Regions from separate parts of the Homo sapiens genome. Here all the other regions are linked to region 2. Evidence: promoter capture Hi-C in 16 types of primary human blood cells and fetal thymus (Javierre and others, 2016). All regions are on one chromosome and are shown on one strand. The core of a region is centred on a gene start or on the middle of the fragment in contact, and the rest is flanking DNA. Distances in the headings are between cores, read along the strand shown. Region 1 overlaps CEP112 (centrosomal protein 112). Region 2 holds the start of RGS9 (regulator of G protein signaling 9). Region 3 overlaps CEP112 (centrosomal protein 112).

The links. Contacts are between HindIII fragments. The CHiCAGO score rates a contact against its expected background, and 5 or more counts as called.
Region 1: a fragment that was not itself captured here is called in contact with the fragment with the promoter of RGS9 in region 2 in 7 of 17 cell types (M1 macrophages, naive B cells, naive CD4 T cells and 4 more); the score reaches 7.7 in M1 macrophages.
Region 3: a fragment that was not itself captured here is called in contact with the fragment with the promoter of RGS9 in region 2 in 3 of 17 cell types (fetal thymus, activated CD4 T cells and naive B cells); the score reaches 5.5 in fetal thymus.

The regions. Positions count from the first base shown.
Region 1 is chr17:66,163,404-66,166,103 of GRCh38, reverse strand. All of the region lies in intron 4 of CEP112 (centrosomal protein 112), which reads left to right. Among named protein-coding and RNA genes, the nearest start is that of CEP112, 27 kb to the left of the region's middle. The HindIII fragment of the contact is 3,636 bases long and covers 1-2,700 here.
Region 2 is chr17:65,136,045-65,138,744 of GRCh38, reverse strand. It overlaps RGS9 (regulator of G protein signaling 9), which reads right to left and starts at 1,375. Exons shown (of 19, transcript NM_003835.4): 1 at 1,148-1,375. The coding sequence starts at 1,204. RefSeq lists a silencer at 1,186-1,685. The HindIII fragment of the contact is 12,932 bases long and covers 1-2,700 here.
Region 3 is chr17:66,183,282-66,185,981 of GRCh38, reverse strand. It overlaps CEP112 (centrosomal protein 112), which reads left to right. Exons shown (of 27, transcript NM_001199165.4): 2 at 2,675-2,700. The coding sequence starts at 2,683. Among named protein-coding and RNA genes, the nearest start is that of CEP112, 7.5 kb to the left of the region's middle. The HindIII fragment of the contact is 2,315 bases long and covers 190-2,504 here.

The DNA.
Region 1 (2,700 bases), core at 179-2,678, 1.0 Mb before region 2:
TAATTTTATATAAATTATATTTATCTTTTAACTCATGTTGGGTCATCTAAATAATACATGTGTTCATACCTGTAAGAAAGAACTTGGAGAATAATTATCCTATTTTAAATAATTATAGAGGACTATAGTTTTTACATCTTTGCTTTAATGAGATTTTGCCATGGGTTATTTGATGCTAGATTTTAGTTTGGAATGAAGATTCTAATTATGGTCCTGCCCTTATGGAAAATGTGACTTGCTTTATAATGATCCTCTTTATGATATGGTTTTCCAGGAATGCATTGTGGCAAAAAGCTGGGATTCTGTATGTCTTACCCCAATATAGCTAGCATTTCATTTGTGTGTGCAGTTTAATAACATGGCCAGCAGATGGTGATCAAGTATAATGAAAACCCACTTGTGGTTGAAGAAGTTAATCTATGTGAGCAAACATTTTTCACTTTAAAAATATTGATTTAATTTTTTAGTCTGGGCATGCAAAAGAATCTTTTTACTTTGTTAAACTCCACTTTTATATGTAAATGATACTATATAACATTATAAATTGCTCCTCCTGAAATTGTTGGATAATTTAGCAAGGAGCCAATCAATACCTTTCCTTCTTAGTAAAACCTTCTTAAATATTACCTGCCAAAAGTACATTCATTTTATTTGTGAATAACCCTGATGTTTGGGCAGATATGTGTTCTACAGCAGTACTGTTCAATAGAACTTTCTGATGGTAATGTTCTATAGGCGGCACTGTCCAATACAGTCGCCACCAGTAAACGTGACTATTGAACACTTGAAATGTGGCTGGTGTGATTGAAAAACTGAATTTCTAATTTTAATTAACTTAAATAGCCACATGTGATTAGGGGCTACTGTGTTGGGCAGAACAGTACCAGATCCGAATCTTCTGCTTGGCCATTGCAAAACCTGACTGACCAGATGGAGAGCTGGTGGCCTGTTCTCTGTCTCGGTGGGGATGTGGGGTAGGAATGGGGACTAGGGCTTGGGTGCTGGTGCATAGAAACTGGCTCTGCCACATGGGAGACCTTTCTTCTGTGCTTACTTGCATTTCACGGGCAGCTCCCTTTTTTGGTGATGATCACCCATGATCAACATCTAGTTGCTCTTGGTCAATTTCTGCTGTCAGAGGAGCTCCTACTAACAAAAAAGAAACTGTTTATAAATAAATATACACACACACACACACACACACACACACACACACATATATGTGTGTATATATATATATATTTTTTTTGAGATGGAGTTTCACTTTGTTGCCCAGGCTGGAGTGCAATGGCACGATCTCGGCTCACCACAACCTCTGCCTTCTGTGTTCAAGCAATTCTCTGCCTCAGCCTCCTGAATAGCTGGGATTACGGGCGCCTGCCACCACGCCCAACTAATTTTTGTATTTTTAGTAGAGACGGGGCTTTACCATCTTGGCCAGGCTGGTCTTGAATGCCTGACGTTGTGATCCATATGCCTCGGCCTCCCAAAGTGCTGGGATTACAGGCATGAGCTACCATGCTGGCCATTTTTTTTTTTTTTTTTTTGAGATAGAGTTTCGCACTGTCGCCCAGGCTGGAGTGCAGTGGCGCGATCTCCCCTCACTGCAACCTCTGCCTCCTGGGTTCAGTGATTCTCCTGCCCCAGCCTCCCGAGTAGCTGGGATTACAGGTGCCCGCCACCACGCCTGGCTAATTTTTGTATTTTTGGTAGAGACGGGGTCTTGCTATGTTGGCCAGGGTGGGCTCCAACTCTTGACCTCAAATGGTCCTCCCGCCTTGGCCTCCCAAAGTGCTGGGATTACAGGCGTGAGCCACTGTGCCTGGCCAAATCTGACTAATTTGACAATCTTTTATACAATGGACACTTGCTGATAGACACTTAACCTTGTACTCTAGAAATAGGACTGCTACATAAATGAGAAGTGAAAACTGCTTGTTAGAGTACACAATAAAATACAACATTTCACACATATAAAACCTCTTAGCTACTCATTAATTTTCAACATTAATGTGCTAATTAAATGTCACTCTTAGGTATTTACTAAGATGAGGCCAAGTGGCAACTATTTGTAACTGGGATGGAGCAGCTTTGAAAATAATGGTCCTTGGGCCATTTAGGCTTTTTTCTCCCCCAGTAAGTCAGCTTTCTGACAATTTAGTCACATTTCTCTTTTTCTTTCTTTTAATGAGTGAGGCTTTGTAATGACATCTTTTAATTTCACAAGTTTCTGTTTGTCAGGTAATATTGAACAGTTTGGGTTGTCCTTTTTAATAAACAAAAATGGATAACAGCTTATATTTTAACATTTAATTTTAATGAAATTTAAATATTGAGTGTTCTAAGTCAGAGATATATTAATAAACAATGATTTAAATGTACGATTTTTAAATTTGTTTTTATTTTTAAGTTTTAAAATCAAGTGTGCCATTTTAAAGTAAGTAGTTGGAAATACGAAGTCTTAAAGTGTTTATGGATCTGTGCTCACCTTTTTCTAGTTTTGTTAAGCATCTCATTTTTTTTCATTTAGTTTTCTTTTTCTTTCTAATAAAGTTCTTTTTGAAAAATTAAAATAAGTATGTTGTGGATTTTTGGAAGTTATTTTCATTTTTTAATTTTCAGCATTATTTGATACTTTACTGGATTATTAATTGTTATTTATTTTTATGTTTCATAAGTATATTTAGTAATATACCCAAA
Region 2 (2,700 bases), core at 126-2,625:
GATAAATCCTGGAAGATGATGTGTGGCTTTGAGATAGCCGACTTAGGCAGTTTCTTCTGCTTTTAGTAACTGGTATCTGCAATACAGGCTCTCAGGGTTCTTTCTGAGTGAGACAACATTCAGCCTGTCTGCTTTACAGATGATACCCACACCTCTGCTACCCGGAAGATGAGCACGAGCATCTTGAAACAGGTGGACCAAATGCGACCGTCTCGGGGTCCCCAGGACTGTCCAGGTTTTAGCATTGAAAGTCCTGGGCAAATCAGGACAGCGGTCACTGACTATACAAATTTGCTGAGCTCCAGGGGCTCAGGGAGAGCTCAGCTTGTCACAAAACATTCAACTAATTCTACTCAACAAGATAAGCCTAAGAAGATGGACACTACGCTGTGAAAAGTGGCTACGGGTGGGAGGAAGGACAAAGATGTGACCCGGGACCTAATCCTCTGTAGATCTCATCGGACAGTGATTATACCAGAAGCTCAGAACTAAATGAACCACTTTGTCCCCAAACACATCACCCCACAGGTGCATTCCACCTCCCACATGTCCATCCTGTGTGCACACCCTGTGCCCGGTCACTTTGTCTGGGAAAGCATTCGCAAGGGAAGCGAAAAGGTTGGGACTTCTGCCGCCAGCGCAGACAGCAGGAGATGCACAGATAGACACACTCAAATGAGGGCTCTCAGGGCATTGTAAATGGGGTGGCCCTTTATCCTACAAATCACCCCGTTTTCATGGTCTATGTGTACACACACACACACTTTAAAATAGTGCAGTTTGGGATCAGAAAAAAAAGGCAAAAATGGCAATGTCACATCTGGTCGTCTTACAACAATATCAGCAGGCTGTCTCAAATCTGCCACAGCCTGAACTGAACCTGCCTCTCCCGAGTAACAGGTTGTTTTCACCTCCCGCAGACCATCAGCGCTGGCTTCAGATTCTCCACTACAGGCAGGGCACACGAAAACCTAATTATTATAGCCATCAATATCGACACACACAGCAAAGAAGTCACTTAATAAAATCGAGCAGCACAAATCGACCCAAAGGGGTGCTCTCCACTCCTGCCCCTCTTGTCCTCGGACGCTTCGCAGATGCGGTCCCCCGCCCTCCTCCCAGGGTCCAGGTGAGGGGCCAGGGTTACCTTTTGGAGAAATGCCATCCTCGGCCTGTACTGCTGGCCTTGGTGTCGGATTGTCATCCTGGCCCCTGGATGGATTCACAGCCAGAGCACCAGTGGGAGACAAGAGGAGAAGCCCCCCAAGTTCGAAAGGCAGCCTGGCTCGCCCCAGCCCTGGGCGTCGACGGGGAGGCGGCTGGGCGGGGAGGGCGCGGGCCGGGCCCCCCTGACTCTCACTAGGCGCCGCTGACTTGGAAAGCAGCTGGAATCCGCGCCAGCCAATCCGCGAGCGGCGCCGCGGGCTCATTAGCATGCGCTGCGCGGGCGCCCACCTGCCGCCAGGGGGCGCTATCCGGCCCCCGCCGGGACCCCGCGGAGCAGCAGGTGAGACCCGCAGGGCAGGGCCCCGGGAGGAGAAGGAGGAGGAGGACCTGGCGGGAGGAGGAGGAGGACCTAGCGGGAGGAGGAGGAGGACCTGTCGAGAGCAGCGAGCCTTTTAACTTGGGGCGGAGTTATGCACAGAAGTGACACAAAGAGCCCTCACTAATACAGCGCGGTGGAAAATACGGACTTTCCCATCCCAGCTCTGCCACTAACCAGCCGGCAGCCTTGGGCAAGTTCCTTACAATCTCTAAGAATCAATGTCCTTCACTCAAAAGTAAAAATTGAAAAATGGGATCATAATATCGACCAGAAAAGGTTGCTATACCATTTTAATGAGGAGATGTGTAACACAGTGCTTGGCCCTCAATAAATGCTTAGAAAAAAAAATTAGAGGTGGCGATTTAATGACCCAATAGCAGAGGAATTGCTAAGATGTGGGTTTAAAAAGAGAGAGCAAAGAAGTGAAGAAGGAAGAGAGGAAGGTTGTAGTCCTCACCGGGCTAGCTGTCTGGATGAAGCGAATTATATTTTACTTCTCTGATTCTTAGTGTTTCGGTTAGTTGGTTGTTGGGTTTGTTGTTGTTTAACTTTTTTTTTGAGACAGGGTCTTGCTCTGTCACCCAGGCTGGAGTGCAGTGGCGTAATCATGGCTCATTGCAGCTACAACCTCCCAGGCTCAAACAATCCTCCCACCTCAGCCTCCCCAGTAGCTGGGGCTACAGGCACGTGCCACCACACCCCGCTAATTTTTACAAAAATTGTTTGTGGAGAGGGAGTTTCACAAACTCCTGGGCTCAATCGATCTACCCACCTCGGCCTCCCAAAGTGCTGGAATTACAGGAGTGAGCCACTGCAGCTGGCTGGTTTGCTTGTTTTAATAGACTTTATTTCTTAGAGCAGTTTTAGGTTCACAGCACAATTGAGCGGAAGGTATAGGGACACGTCATATATCCCCTCTCCCCACGCACGCACAGCGTCCCCCATGATCAACATCCTCCACTGGAGTGGCCCATTTGTTACAATTGATGAACCTACCTTGACAGCTCATTATGTTAGCGTTTTCATCTTGAGAAAAATGCAAGGATGAAGCCTCTAAGTTATTATCAAGAGCCTTTCTGCTTTGTTATATAAAGCACTTTCTCTTAAACATACTCGATGGTTATTGAGTGTAGCAGATAAAATGTTTAAGTTGG
Region 3 (2,700 bases), core at 98-2,597, 1.0 Mb before region 2:
AGGAAAGTAAAGTCAGCAAGTAAAAGCTACGATTTACTTACAGAGACAGGGTAGAGAGAACTTTCTATGAAGAGGTTGTTAATGATGAAATGATGGAAACCATTTGATAATGTGGTAAATATTAGAAGCTGGTTTAGCAGATAGAGGGCAGTTTGTGGAGCAAGATAGCTTATGAGGCAGAACAAAGCTTTTCACCGAATATAGAATTTGTAAATGGAATAAATGACAAATTGGCACTATTCATAATGTAAAGGTAGCGCACATCCCTATCAGGACATTTCACAGTTTAAAGGAACATGTAGTGTGTGTATGTATTTTTAACTTAACAAATTTTGTCAAAACCTACACTTTTGATTTTTGGGATTCACCCCCTTTGTATTCAGTGTTTTTCTTGTTAATTAGAAGGAAGTATGATGACCAATATTTTACAGTTTTTAAAAAGGATTAAAAAGTTTAAATTTGGCGGGGCGCAGTGGCTCATGCCTGTAATGCCAGCACTTTGGGAGGCTGAGGTGGATGGATCACGAGGTCAGGAGTTCGAGACCAGCCTGACCAACATGGTGAAACCCCATCTCTACTAAAAATAGAAAAGTTAGCCGGGCATGGTGGTGTGTGCCTGTAATCCCAGCTACTCAGGAGTCTGAGGCAGGAGAATCACTTGAACCCAGGAGGCGGAGGTTGCAGTGAGCCAAGATTGTGCCATTGCACTCCATAGCCTGGAGAACAGAGCAAGACTCTGTCTCAAAAAAAATTTTTTTTAACTTATATACAGCAAATGCACTTTTTTTGGCATATAGTTCTTGCCACTGTAGGTTCTTATAACTTCCTACATAGATAGTGTACAGAAAAATTCCAACATGCCAAATCGTTTCTTTGTGCCATCCCTTTGTGTTGAGACTCTGCCCCCACTGCTATCCCCATGAGCTGCTGATCTGTTCTTTATGCCTATATTGTTTGCCTTTTCTAGAATGTCACACAAATGGAATTAGTATGCAGCCTTTTGAGAAGGGCTTCTTTCACTTAGCATAAGGATTTGAAGTTTCCATGTTTTGTGTGTATCAGCAGTTCATTCCTTTCTGTTGCTGAGTACTATGTTATTGTGTGGATATGCCACAGTTTATCTAGTCACCATTTGAGGGACATTTGGGCTGTTTTCAGTTGTTTGGTGGTTATTTAAAAAAAATCACATTTGGATTTTTTTGTGTATATAGATTTTTCTTTTCACTTAGCTAAATACTTGGGAGTGGGATTTCTGGGTCATAGGCTGAGTGTATGTTTATTTTTGTAAGAAACTGCCAAACTGTTTTCCAGAGTGCCTGTACTATTTTGTATTTCTACCAGCAATGCATGAGAGTTTCTGTTGTTGTCCATCCTCACCAGCACTTGGTATTGTTTGCATTTTTAATGTTAGTGGTATCTCAGTATAGTTTTAATTTGCATTTCTGTAATGATATTGAGCATCTTGTCATGTGCTTACTTGCCATCTGTATTTCTTCTTTGGTAAAGGGACTAATTTTTTTTGCTGATTATCGGGGTAGTTTGTTTTCTGATTGTTGAATTTTGAGAGTCCTTATGTATTCTTGATACAAGTCTCGTATGAGATGTATGATTTGCAAATATTTTGTTCTGGTCTGTGGCTTATCTTCTCAATTCCTTAACAACGTCCTTTGCAGGACAGTTTTTTTTTGTGAAGTTCAATATGTCAGCTTTCTTTTTTATTTTTGAGATAGGGTCTTGCTCTGTCACCGAGGCTAGAGTTTAGTGGTGCGATCATGGCCCACTGCAGCCTTTACCTCTCACACTTTCAAACAATTCTCCCACCTCAGCATCCCAAGTAGCTGGGACTACAGGTACGTGCCACTACACCTGGCTAATTTTTAATTTTTTTTTTGTTTTGTAGAGATGGGGTCTCACCAAATTGCCCAGGGTGGTCTTTAACTCCTGAGCTCAAGCATTCCTCCTGCCTGGGACTCCCAAAGTTCTGGGATTACAGGCATGAGCTATCATGCCTGGTCAGTTTTTCCTTTTGTGGATAGTGCTTTTAATGTTGTATATAAGAAATCTTAGCCTTACTCAAGTTTGCAAAGATTTCCTCCCATGCTTTCTTGTAAGAGTTGTATAGTTTTACATTTTTACACTTAGGTCTGTGATTCATATTGAGTTAATTTTTATATACAGGATGAAGTTTAGGTTGAAGTTCTTTTTTTTTTGTATATGGATATCCAATTGTTATGACATCATTTGTTGTAATAACTGTCATTTCTTCATGGATCACACCTTTGTTGAAAATCAGTTGTTTATGTTTGTTTTGGTCTGGTTTCTGGACTCTCTAATCTTTTCCACTGATCTGTCTATCCTTTCACCAATACCAATTGTCTTGACTACTGTGGCTTTGGAGTACATCTTAAAATCTGGTAATGTGAGTTCTCCAACTTTGTACTTTCTCAAAATTGTTTGGGCTCTTTAGTTCCTTTACTTTTTCATGTAAATTTTAGAATTAAGCTTATCTCTACAAATAATACGGCTGGGTTTTGATGGGAGTTGCATTAAATCTACAGGTCAATTTGGGGAGAACTGATATCTAACACTTAAGAGTTTTTTTTATCTTTCTCATCAGAGTTTTGTAGTTTTCAGCATACAAATCCTTAATATTTTGATTTAAAATCTTTTACAGATTGGATTATGGAAGTGGGAAGTGAA